Regions from separate parts of the Homo sapiens genome. Here regions 1 and 2 are each linked to region 3. Evidence: promoter capture Hi-C in 16 types of primary human blood cells and fetal thymus (Javierre and others, 2016). All regions are on one chromosome and are shown on one strand. The core of a region is centred on a gene start or on the middle of the fragment in contact, and the rest is flanking DNA. Distances in the headings are between cores, read along the strand shown.

The links. The method cuts DNA at HindIII sites, captures the fragments that hold promoters and counts their contacts. A CHiCAGO score of 5 or more calls a contact.
Region 1: a contact is called between a fragment that was not itself captured here and the fragment with the promoter of IRAK1 in region 3, in 2 of 17 cell types (monocytes and M1 macrophages). The highest score is 6.1, in monocytes.
Region 2: the fragment with the promoter of OPN1LW here is called in contact with the fragment with the promoter of IRAK1 in region 3 in 2 of 17 cell types (total B cells and monocytes); the score reaches 6.3 in total B cells.

Annotation. Positions count from the first base shown.
Region 1 is chrX:154,122,118-154,125,897 of GRCh38, reverse strand. No RefSeq gene overlaps it. Among named protein-coding and RNA genes, the nearest start is that of OPN1LW, 20 kb to the left of the region's middle. The HindIII fragment of the contact is 1,815 bases long and covers 737-2,551 here.
Region 2 is chrX:154,142,585-154,145,883 of GRCh38, reverse strand. OPN1LW (opsin 1, long wave sensitive) reads right to left here and starts at 1,641. Exons shown (of 6, transcript NM_020061.6): 1 at 1,489-1,641. The coding sequence starts at 1,600. RefSeq lists cis regulatory regions at 1,664-1,737, 1,737-1,754, 1,754-1,771, 1,771-1,831 and a promoter at 1,598-1,831. The HindIII fragment of the contact is 9,614 bases long and covers 1-2,617 here.
Region 3 is chrX:154,018,652-154,022,276 of GRCh38, reverse strand. It overlaps IRAK1 (interleukin 1 receptor associated kinase 1), which reads left to right and starts at 2,375. Exons shown (of 14, transcript NM_001569.4): 1 at 2,375-2,600; 2 at 2,679-2,846; 3 at 2,949-3,080; 4 at 3,199-3,302; 5 at 3,490-3,625. The coding sequence starts at 2,465. It overlaps MIR718 (microRNA 718), which reads left to right and starts at 2,288; the gene lies at 2,288-2,357. It overlaps MECP2 (methyl-CpG binding protein 2), which reads left to right. Exons shown (of 3, transcript NM_001110792.2): 3 at 1-704. RefSeq lists enhancers at 1,256-1,325, 1,441-2,410 and silencers at 2,096-2,475, 2,826-2,925, 2,936-3,005. The HindIII fragment of the contact is 4,941 bases long and covers 1-3,200 here.

The DNA.
Region 1 (3,780 bases), core at 395-2,894, 100 kb before region 3:
GGGAGGGGAGGTGTAAGCATGGCCCGAGCTACCCCGGCTGCTATCTCACTAAGTCGCTTGTACCCCAAGTCCGCTGGCTCCGAGCCCAGTCCAGCAGCAGGACTTGCCCGGGACTTGCCGTCCTTGTTGCCTAGACTGCCTTTCAAGTATATTTCAGGCCCCTGAATACTTTAGGCCGCAGTGGTGAGGCTTTGCTGGAGCTCAGGCTCCATCCGCTGAAGATGGGCGATTCCTCTCCGGCTAGGGCTGATGTAAATCCTCCCTTCGTGGGCGCCCGCTAACTTCTGCCCCGTGTTGCTTTCTGCTGGGACACGGCAGCAGCGCTGAGTTCCGACGCAAAGCCCCACAGTCACCGTGCCCTCCCTCCCCCAAGTGTACAGCTTCTCTCTCTGCACCACGAGGCTGCTGCGGAGCGGGGGCTGGGGGTGGGGGGTGCCGGGGCTGAGGCTGGGGCGCGGGGCGGGGAGTGATTCAAGACTGTCCTTCCTACCCTTGTCACGGCCTCTTTCAGTGATGTGAAGTTCAACCAGGTCCTGTGATCGCTCACCTGATTTTTGGATATTAGGAAAGTGCTTTTTTGTGTGGCTAGTTGTTCAATTTGGTGTTCCCGCAGTGGGGATGATCACTGGAGGCTTCTATTTGGCCATGCTGTTCTGCCTCTCTCTCTATCTTCTGTGTTGATAAAGCCCTTTCAATATTAGTAAGTGTATTTAACACAGTAGAGATTCCTGAAGCTTCTTCATGACTGTTCAATTTGGGCCTGATAGCAATATGCGTTTCCTTGTTTCTTATCCTGTGACTGAGCAAGCAGGACATTGTAACAGTGGAGGAAAAATCCCCAGTTTTCCATGTTCTCTCATCCAAAAACTTTTTGAGAGAAAGAGTACATTTAGGAAGCAGGACGACCATTTAGATTTTTACTAATAGCCTGGTTTTATATGGTTGGTTTTATATGGCTATTTATAAATGTTTTGATTTAACTTGTTAAAGTGTAATATCCCAAAATTCTATGATTTATTTTTCTCTTTTCCCATTGCAATATTTATTTATTTATTTATTTATTTTGAGACAGAGTCTTTCTCTGTTGCCCAGGCTTGGGTGCACTGGTGCAATCTCGGCTCACTGCAACCTCCGCCTCCCGGGTTCAAGCGATTCTCTTGCCTCAGCCTCCTGAGTAGCTGGGACTACAGGTGCACCCCACCATGCCCGGATAATTTTTGTATCTTTGGTAGAGACCCAGTTTTGCCATGTTGGCCAGGCTAGTCTCAAACTCCCAACCTCAGATGATCCACCTGCCTCAGCTTCCCAAAGTGCTGGGGTTACAGGCATGAGGCACCACACCCCGCCCCATTCCAGTATTTAAAAACGACTTTTGTGCACAGAAAAGAGATAACATGATGATTTGTTCCCCACAACTTCAACTTATTTAATTTAATTAAAATTTCTAAACAGGTTACCATGTATATAGGAAGGAAAACCCACATTGTATAGAGACCAAAATTTATATAATTTAGGGTTCCTCTTTAAGAATACTAAATCACTTGCAAATGTGTCCATTCATTTAGAAAAAGATAAGAAATCACAACAAATTACAAATTTTAAAAAGCTGACAAATACAACAAAAGGCAGCAAAGTACAATGTTTTTGTTCCTATTATATTTTGTACTGAAGCTACCTGTGTTATCTTTTTTCCCCACATTTTGGCTGCATAGTGTTAGATCGCATCTTCATCTGACAATGATATTGTGACATAATTCTCACTAGAGGGAACAGAAAGATAAAGCAGTCTTCCTTCCACTCTGCTTGACTGAAATGTTTTCTGATTGCTATCACACAGTCTTTGTTTGTTTCCTTATCAGTAAAGCTGCACCAGAAACTTCCTCTGTCATTTCCTGCTCAGAGGCGCTCCCTGCCCCAGGACTAGCTCTCTGGGTGTGGCCTGTGGTCCGTGGTGTGGCCTGTGGTGTGGCCCATCAGTCCGCCCAGGGGTCACTCGCCCTCTGTGTGGCCAGTTGCTGGGTTGCTGTTCCTGCAGCAGCTGCCCTACCCTGGCCAGGCCCTTACTGTCCCTGGTTCTCTCCATCCCAGGACCATCCTAATAACCGTTTCTCCTTTTTTCTTTTTCTTTTTTTTTTTTTGGAGACGGAGTCTCTCTCTGTTGCCCAGGTTGGAGTGCAGTGGCATGATCTCAGCTCACTGCAAGCTCCGCCTCCCAGGTTCAAGCGATTGTCTTGCCTCAGCCTCCTCAGCCTCCCGAGTAGCTGGGATTACAGGTGCTCACCACCACGCCCGGCTAATGTTTGTATTTTTAGTAGAGAAGCAGTTTCACCATGTTGGCCGGGCTGGTCTCGAACTCCCGACCTCAAGTGATCCGCGCACCTTGGCCTCCCAAAGTGCTGGGATAACAGGCGTGAGCCACCGCGCCCGGCCCATCCTAATAACCTTGAAGCCTGATTGTAGCCTCCCCTCTCCCACCTGTCCTCAACCATGCAGGGAGTGGAGCAGTGCCTCACAGGGTTCCTCCTCCTGGAAGTCAAAGAAAAGTCAAGCTTTTGATGAGGTCTGGCAGCCCCCGTGCTACCACTGACCAGGGTGTGAGGGTGGCCCAGGCCTCTAGTGCCCAGCTGGGGTAGCTGCCCAGTCCCCAACTGTGTGGAGAGATTCTCACCGTGGGGAAACTCTAACTTTGAGAGTTTGTCTTAAAAGGCCAGCACTTTTATAGTATCAGAGGTTTGGCCCTACATTTTAAAATGTTTTTCTCTGGTGAGTCTTTGAAGCCAATCAATCAGAATAGTGGTTCCATCAGCTGGGAGAGCCTCAGCATCTTCATTCATTCATTTCCTTTGCAAATGGGCAAAAGTATCCTTTGGGGGAAACTCCTCCCCTTTACTCTAGTTCTAGCTGTACAGAAAAAAAGCCACCATCACCCAGCAGGATCGTCTTTTTTTTTTTAATTTAAAAAAAAATTTAGGGACAAGGTCTTGCTCCGTCACGCAGGCTGGAGTGTAGTGGCATGATTATAGCTGACTCCAGCCTCAAACTCCTGGGTTTAAGTGATCCTCCCACTTCAGCCTCCCAAAGGGTTGGGGTTTACAGGCATGAGCCACCACGCCCAGCCACCCAGCAGAAGAATCTCATCAAACCCTCCAGCATGCTGGAGAGTGTCAAGGAGGCCTCCCCTGAGGACATGAGTCCCTCCCCTGTGACTGTGCCCGGACTGAGGGTCTTTGATGGCTACAGAGTTTCACGGTGTCCCTACAGAGTTGGTCAGCTCAGGAACCCCCAGGTAAGGACTGGCAGGCAGAGGGGCTGCTCCCTACTGTGCACAGCACTACAGAAAGTGTGGATGGAGGATGAGCTGCTATTCAGTGCTGAAGCTTGAAGCTCACACTGGCTCCCACAGCTTCTTCTGCCATCCCATCACCTTATTCCATGCAATCCAATGTATGTATTTTCCTGGGATTTCTCTAGTTATTCAGAGCAGAAGGACCAGCCTCAAGGAGTTCAAGTAGAGGTCAGTCTCATGGGGGCCAGACAGGCCGAGCTGGCCACCACTCACTCGCTTCCCTCCCAGTACAAGACTCAGACCCGCATGACCATGATTGAGATGTCTCGGGTGCCCTCGAGCCACCCCCCCCAGGAGCCAAATTCTTCCCAAGAGTCCATTATCCCGGGGACAGCTGTCTTGTGATCCTGTTCCCTGGAGAACACAGGCACGGAACAAGCCCTGATCCCCTTCGGTGACGACTCAGTAGTGTGCACAGCCAGGAAACCACAGAA
Region 2 (3,299 bases), core at 392-2,891, 120 kb before region 3:
CAGGAAGAAAGGGTAGTGGAGGGGTCACAGATGAAATGAGATGAAACCGTGGAAGCTGAGTGATGGGTACCGGAGTTCATTACACTCCTCCCTCTACTTTAGTAGATGCTTGAAGTTTTGTGGAAAAAAAAAAAACCCACCCCGACATTTGAAAAGAGTGCACTGAAGCATCATGCATTGATGAAGTCTGGGGGCATCTAGGAAGAGACTGTTGACATTGCCACCAAGGAAATTCTGGGCACAGTCATGTTGAGGTCAACTGCAAGATCCTCATCCGGTTTGGTCTGGGCACTCTGTCACTAATTGGCACTCGGTCCTGGCCACCCCACAGCGGGATGTTTATTGGCAATCAAGGAGCTGGCGTGGCTTCTGGAAACCACAGCCTGCACGATGTTGTTGTTTTTTGTTTTGTTTTGTTTTGAGACAAGAGTCTCACTCTGTGGCCAGGCTGGAGCATAGTGGCGTGATCTCGGCTCACTGCAACCTCCACCTCCCGGGTTCAAGCGATTCTCCTGCCTCAGCCTCCTGAGTAGCTGGGACTACAGGCATGCGCCACCAAGCCCAGCTAATTTTTGCATTTTTAGTAGACATGAGGTTTCAGTATGTTGGCCAGGATGATCTCTATCTGTTGACCTCGTCATCTGCCCGCCTCTGCCTCCCAAAGTGCTGGGATTACAGGCGTGAGCCACTGTGCCCGGCCTGCACGATGTTCTTGAAGGCACCAAAGGAATTTGGTTTGGAGGAGGGACCTGGGGAGAGGGCCAGGAGTGGGGCGGTCACTGGTGTCCTCAGCTTCTTTGAGGGCCTGCGTGCAAAACTTTCGGATTGGGCAACTCCCAATGGCAGGACTCGGGCTGCCCTGATGAGAGCTTTCAGCTTTCTGTTGGGCCTGAGCCCTCTCTCCCAGGACGGCTCCGAATGGAAAGATGGCCCTGGGCGCCAATGCAGCCTCTTCCCCCAGAGGTGTGCAGCCAAAAGCCAAGTGGCCCCATCATGGAGTTTGACAAAATGACTGCTACAGGCTTTGCCGACCCTGAAGTTCTAGAAGTTTCTTGCCCTCTGCTGCTGTCTTCCCCACCCTCCCGCCTCCCTTGGGTGTGTCAGTATGTTGCCTCCTTTCGGCTTCAAATGTAAAGACAGACCCAGCTCTTCCCCAGGAAGCTGAGGGACTCCGTGGAATGAGAGGTCATTCGCTAGCAGTGAACACACTCATCTACGGGCCACAAAGAAAGAGCACATAAACTCTTCCCCGGCCTCGGATTCTCAAAGGGGCTGGGAAGCCTGTGTGGCTTGAGAATGCATATTCGATATTATGGTGTCCTTCTAGATTTGGAGAGGACCCCCCAATTCATGTCATCAGAAAAGCTATGGGAGAAAGCCTTCTCTGCTGGTGGGGACGTGCAGAAGAGAGATTCCCTTGGGCGGGGCAGGTGGGTGGCCGGTGGCCCCCAGTGCAGCCACCCAGCCTCCACGGGCCTGCTGGCTCACCTCTGGTGGAGTTGCTGTTGGTGTAGGTGAAGATGCTGGACTGGGTGCTGTCCTCATAGCTGTCCTGCGGATGGCGGCCTGCGAGCCTTTGGAGGCTCCACTGCTGGGCCATGGCTATGGAAAGCCCTGTCCCCGACGGCAGCCGGCCCTGGCGCATCACCTGAGGGTCACGGCGCTTTATACTGGCCTGTGGGATCAGCCCGGGCCTCTTCACCTTAAAAGCTCCCAAACCCTACACTACCTGATCTCTTAATTGGGCCTGGGACTTAGACCTCCTCCTCCCACCTCTTGCTCCCCTGCTCCTGAGGCGAGCCCGCAAGGGCGGCTCAGAGGGATTTGCTGGGAACCAAACTCAGACGCCCCACCCATCCCCGCCAGGAAGGTGGCGGTGACTGTGGGAGCCGCTGTGGCCCTCTCTGTGTTTATGTGTTCTCTGTTCCCTTCTACTGTCCTGCGTCCGCCTTTGGGGCAGGTGGACCCACGGGTCAGGATTTGCAGACTGGGGGGTGGGTGGTGAAACTGCTCAGAGCCCGAATCCTCCTTTCTCATGTGGTTCTCTTGAAAGCCCAGGGAGACTATTTAGGGCCGAGGCCTGGAACCGGATCCTCCTTGCGAGGCCAGCCATGTCCGTGGGCCCAAACGGGCGAGATTTGTGCCGGGGGGCTCCTCCTCCAGTGTAGGGGGGGCAGACTGACTGCGCACATCCTGCTGTTGGCTTCCCTCCTCCCCCTTGCCCCCCATGAGCTGTAGGTCCTTTGGCCGCCAGGGTGCACATGCAGTGCCCACATCAGCCCACGGCAGCGCCTGCTCACGTCTCCCTTGCCCTGAGTTCACAGCCTTGCCTTGGGCTTCACCAACCACAGGCCCCCCGTCGACAGAGTGTCCAGACAGGCCATCTCTGCTGTCCCTGTGTCCCCACGCTTCGCAGGGGCACGGATGACCTGTTAGTGCCCAACTCCGTAGCCTCGCCTCAGTTTCCAACCAACGGGCCCTGTCCCCTCCACGGCCCACCCGCCCCAGCGCCTCCCCAGGAGCACATCCCCTTTCACGGCTTCCATCAGCTCCCAGCTCCTCAGTCCCCAAATCCAGCTCCTTCCAGGTACCTCCTTTTGGGTTTATTCCTTAAGCTTAGGAAAGCCAAGGCGTGAGCTTGTGGCCTCTTGTCCCTGTTCTCAGAGCCACGATTCTCCAGCATTCCTGGCTCACACTTACACTCCTGGCAGCATGGCTTCTGCTGCAGGCACAAGGGGGCCCTGGCTGCCAAGCTGAAGGCCAGGGCTGCATGGAGCCCCAGCCTGGCTACCCATAGCAAGAATGGCTTTTAACATCTGTCGCTGCCTGCCACGTGCTAGGTGCCAAGCTAGGGGCCCCATGTGGAAGAGAAGACGAGTCCTGGCCACAGACTTGCCAGGGCCCATTCACAGCCTAGAAAGGTGAGCTTTTTCCCCAACTCTGGCACTTCTACACCTGTGTACCCAAGAGACTTGAAAATGTGTGTCCACACAAAAACCCGTACATGAATACAAACAGAGCACTGTTCCCAACAGGCCACATGGTAGAAGCAACCCAAAAGTCCAGAAGCAGATGAGTGGGTAAAAAGTGGCCTGTCTGTACAATGGAGTATCATTTGGCCATAACAGGGAATGAAGGGCTGACCTACGCTACAACGTGGATGGACCTGGAGAACAGCATGCTCAGTGAGCGAAGCCAGACACAAAAGACCACGGAGCGCATGGCTCCATCTCTGTGAAATGCTTAGATAGGGCAATCCAGAGACACACAAAGCAGAGGAATGGGTGCCAGGACAGGGG
Region 3 (3,625 bases), core at 1,126-3,625:
CAGCCCAGAGGCCGAGAGCTATGGACAGCATTGCCAGTAACACAGGCCACCCTGTGCAGAAGGGAGCTGGCTCCAGCCTGGAAACCTGTCTGAGGTTGGGAGAGGTGCACTTGGGGCACAGGGAGAGGCCGGGACACACTTAGCTGGAGATGTCTCTAAAAGCCCTGTATCGTATTCACCTTCAGTTTTTGTGTTTTGGGACAATTACTTTAGAAAATAAGTAGGTCGTTTTAAAAACAAAAATTATTGATTGCTTTTTTGTAGTGTTCAGAAAAAAGGTTCTTTGTGTATAGCCAAATGACTGAAAGCACTGATATATTTAAAAACAAAAGGCAATTTATTAAGGAAATTTGTACCATTTCAGTAAACCTGTCTGAATGTACCTGTATACGTTTCAAAAACACCCCCCCCCCACTGAATCCCTGTAACCTATTTATTATATAAAGAGTTTGCCTTATAAATTTACATAAAAATGTCCGTTTGTGTCTTTTGTTGTAAAAATCAAGTGATTTTTTCATAAGGTTCTTTTACTATTGGAAAAGATGGGCAGCACGCAGTTTTATTTTATTTTTGTAAGTTTTTTAATACATGTGAAAGCAAAGAATACTCAGCATGCCTTTCTAAGTGACGCGTTTGCACCTTTTGTTGGGAAGTACTGTATCCTGTGCTGTTAGCATTCTCGATAAATCTCTCTGTGAAAGTGACTCAAGGTCTGGGCTTTCATTATAAGACAGAAGTCCCCCTCCAGCTCACATGACAGCATGGTGCTGCGTTTCCTCATTGGATCTGGCTGTCCCTGGACACAGGTAGCTGCCTTCAGGCCTGCCACGAGCGGCCAAGGGAAGCCTCCTCCATATGCTGGCCTCGCTGGCCCCTCAGCTTCTTCCAAGCCAGTGCTCTCCAGGCACACTGCTCCAGCGTGTGACGGGAAGGGCCTGGCATGAGTCAGCCTGCAGCACAACCTCCCTGCTCCAGACCCGTATGGTAGGGGCACCCCCTAGGTCTGGATGTGCTGTGGTGCTTTTGGACACCCCCACCCCCGCAGGCTGTGGCTCCTCCTGTGTCTCATTCTGGCCAGGACCCTCACGTGCCCTCTGTTGACTGCTAACGTGGTTCTCTGACCAGGCAAGGGCAGGCTGAGGGGTTTGCCCAAAGGGGGCCCCCTTGTTACTGGCTTCCTTGGCTCTCAGGAGCAGCCTCACCAGGTTGGTAAGGGGCTGGAGGAGACAACTGCTCAAAGGAGTCCAGCTTCACATGCACATGCTAGAAGGTACCCTCGGAAGGCCTGGCCTTCAAAGGTAGATCCCAGGGTTGAAAAGTCAACTTGTATGCATTGAGCATCTCGTATGCCAGCCCTGTTCCGTGAGCTGATGGGCCTTTGTGTGTAAGTAGGACCAAGTGCCCCCGTGGAGGTTAGCATGGGTGTGCAGTCATTTCAGATACTTGAGTTGGTACATCTCAGTAAAGTCTGTCCCGTGAGAAGCCATGGGTTTCATGGTATGGTTGGCATCTTCCTTGGGAGTGGCCACAGTGGTGGTGGCTTCAGGAAAGAGACTCCAACAGGGGCCAGCTGTGGGCCTTGGGCACTTCTCGTTTCTAGGAAAAGTCCTAAGTCTGTAGGGCTAGGGGTGGGGAACCCCTTCGCTGTCAGGATCAAGAGGGCAAGGGGAACTGTCGCTGGAGGAGACATCCAGCTGGAGAAACAAAAGAGTAAGTCTGCGTTGCTGCTTGTGGGGTCTTCCCCATCTCAGGGCGGGGACCGGGGGTGGCGGTCCAGACAAGTAATCAAGGACGATGCCCAGGAGGGGACAGGTACGGGGTGGCAGGAGCTCTGCCGGCGGGCTCAGGAAGCCTTCACCACAGCTGCCTGAGCTCACCCTTGCCAAATGAGGGCTGGGGCAGCAGCAACGCATACACTCACGGCTGTGGCGGGCAGCGTTCTCGGCATATTTCAGGACACCTAAGGAGACTGAATGGCTCAAGGCTGCTGCCGTGTGCAGGGGGCTAGACGTGGGGCGGGCAGGCAGGGCTCCTGGTAACAGCCCTGCAGGCCGCAGTGGAGAGCAGGGTTCCGGCAGGGCCGCCCAGGAGCTTTCGGAAGGCCCGGCCCCGGCCCCTTTCCGAGCAGCCCGGGCCTCCGCCCTGCCCTCTGTCCCCAACGCCGGGAGCCGCCGTTCGTCCTCCAGAGCCCCGCCCGGGCGAGCCCGGGAGGCCGATCGCCGCTCGCGGAACCCGCCGGGACCCGGGCCCTCCCCGGCGCGGGGCGCCCCCGTGTGACCCAGCGCGCGGCCGCGGCGCGCAAGATGGCGGCGGGCCCGGGCACCGCCCCTTCCGCCCCGCCGGGCGTCGCACGAGGCCGGCTCGAAGGGGAAGTGAGTCAGTGTCCGCGGACCCGGCCGGCCCAGGCCCGCGCCCGCCGCGGCCCTGAGAGGCCCCGGCAGGTCCCGGCCCGGCGGCGGCAGCCATGGCCGGGGGGCCGGGCCCGGGGGAGCCCGCAGCCCCCGGCGCCCAGCACTTCTTGTACGAGGTGCCGCCCTGGGTCATGTGCCGCTTCTACAAAGTGATGGACGCCCTGGAGCCCGCCGACTGGTGCCAGTTCGGTGGGTGGCGGCGGGCTGCCGGGGGGCGGGAGGCGCGCGGGCTCCTGGCGCCGACGCCTGACGCCCCCCGCCCCGCAGCCGCCCTGATCGTGCGCGACCAGACCGAGCTGCGGCTGTGCGAGCGCTCCGGGCAGCGCACGGCCAGCGTCCTGTGGCCCTGGATCAACCGCAACGCCCGTGTGGCCGACCTCGTGCACATCCTCACGCACCTGCAGCTGCTCCGTGCGCGGGACATCATCACAGCCTGTGAGCGCGGGACTCCGGGCACCCCACGGCTGGGAGGCCGGCGGGCCCCACGGGGCTCCCCCACCCGGGCCTCAACCTTCCTTTCCTTCCTTGGCGTCCCAGGGCACCCTCCCGCCCCGCTTCCGTCCCCAGGCACCACTGCCCCGAGGCCCAGCAGCATCCCTGCACCCGCCGAGGCCGAGGCCTGGAGCCCCCGGAAGTTGCCATCCTCAGCCTCCACCTTCCTCTCCCCAGGTAAGAGGGCCCGGTTGTTAGGCTCGGTGGACCCAAAGAAGAGCCCACCTTGACCACGGCCACGGCTGTAGACCCTGCTGCTGGTCTCTGCCTGCCTCTCACTGGTGTCTTTATGAAGCTTTTCCAGGCTCCCAGACCCATTCAGGGCCTGAGCTCGGCCTGGTCCCAAGCCCTGCTTCCCTGTGGCCTCCACCGCCATCTCCAGCCCCTTCTTCTACCAAGGTAGGTGTCCCCTGCCCCCCAGGGAAGATTCGAGACAAGGAGGAAGGAATTCAGCCTTTGATGTAGCGCAGAGCCCCAGTCAGCCAAGCTGGGTCAGCTGGGAGGCAGCTGTGGTGGGGAGAGCCTGGAGCCTTGGGCAGAAGGGAAGAGACAGGGACCCCACCTGATCCAGGCTCTCTTCCCACAGCCAGGCCCAGAGAGCTCAGTGTCCCTCCTGCAGGGAGCCCGCCCCTTTCCGTTTTGCTGGCCCCTCTGTGAGATTTCCCGGGGCACCCACAACTTCTCGGAGGAGCTCAAGATCGGGGAGGGTGGCTTTGGGTGCG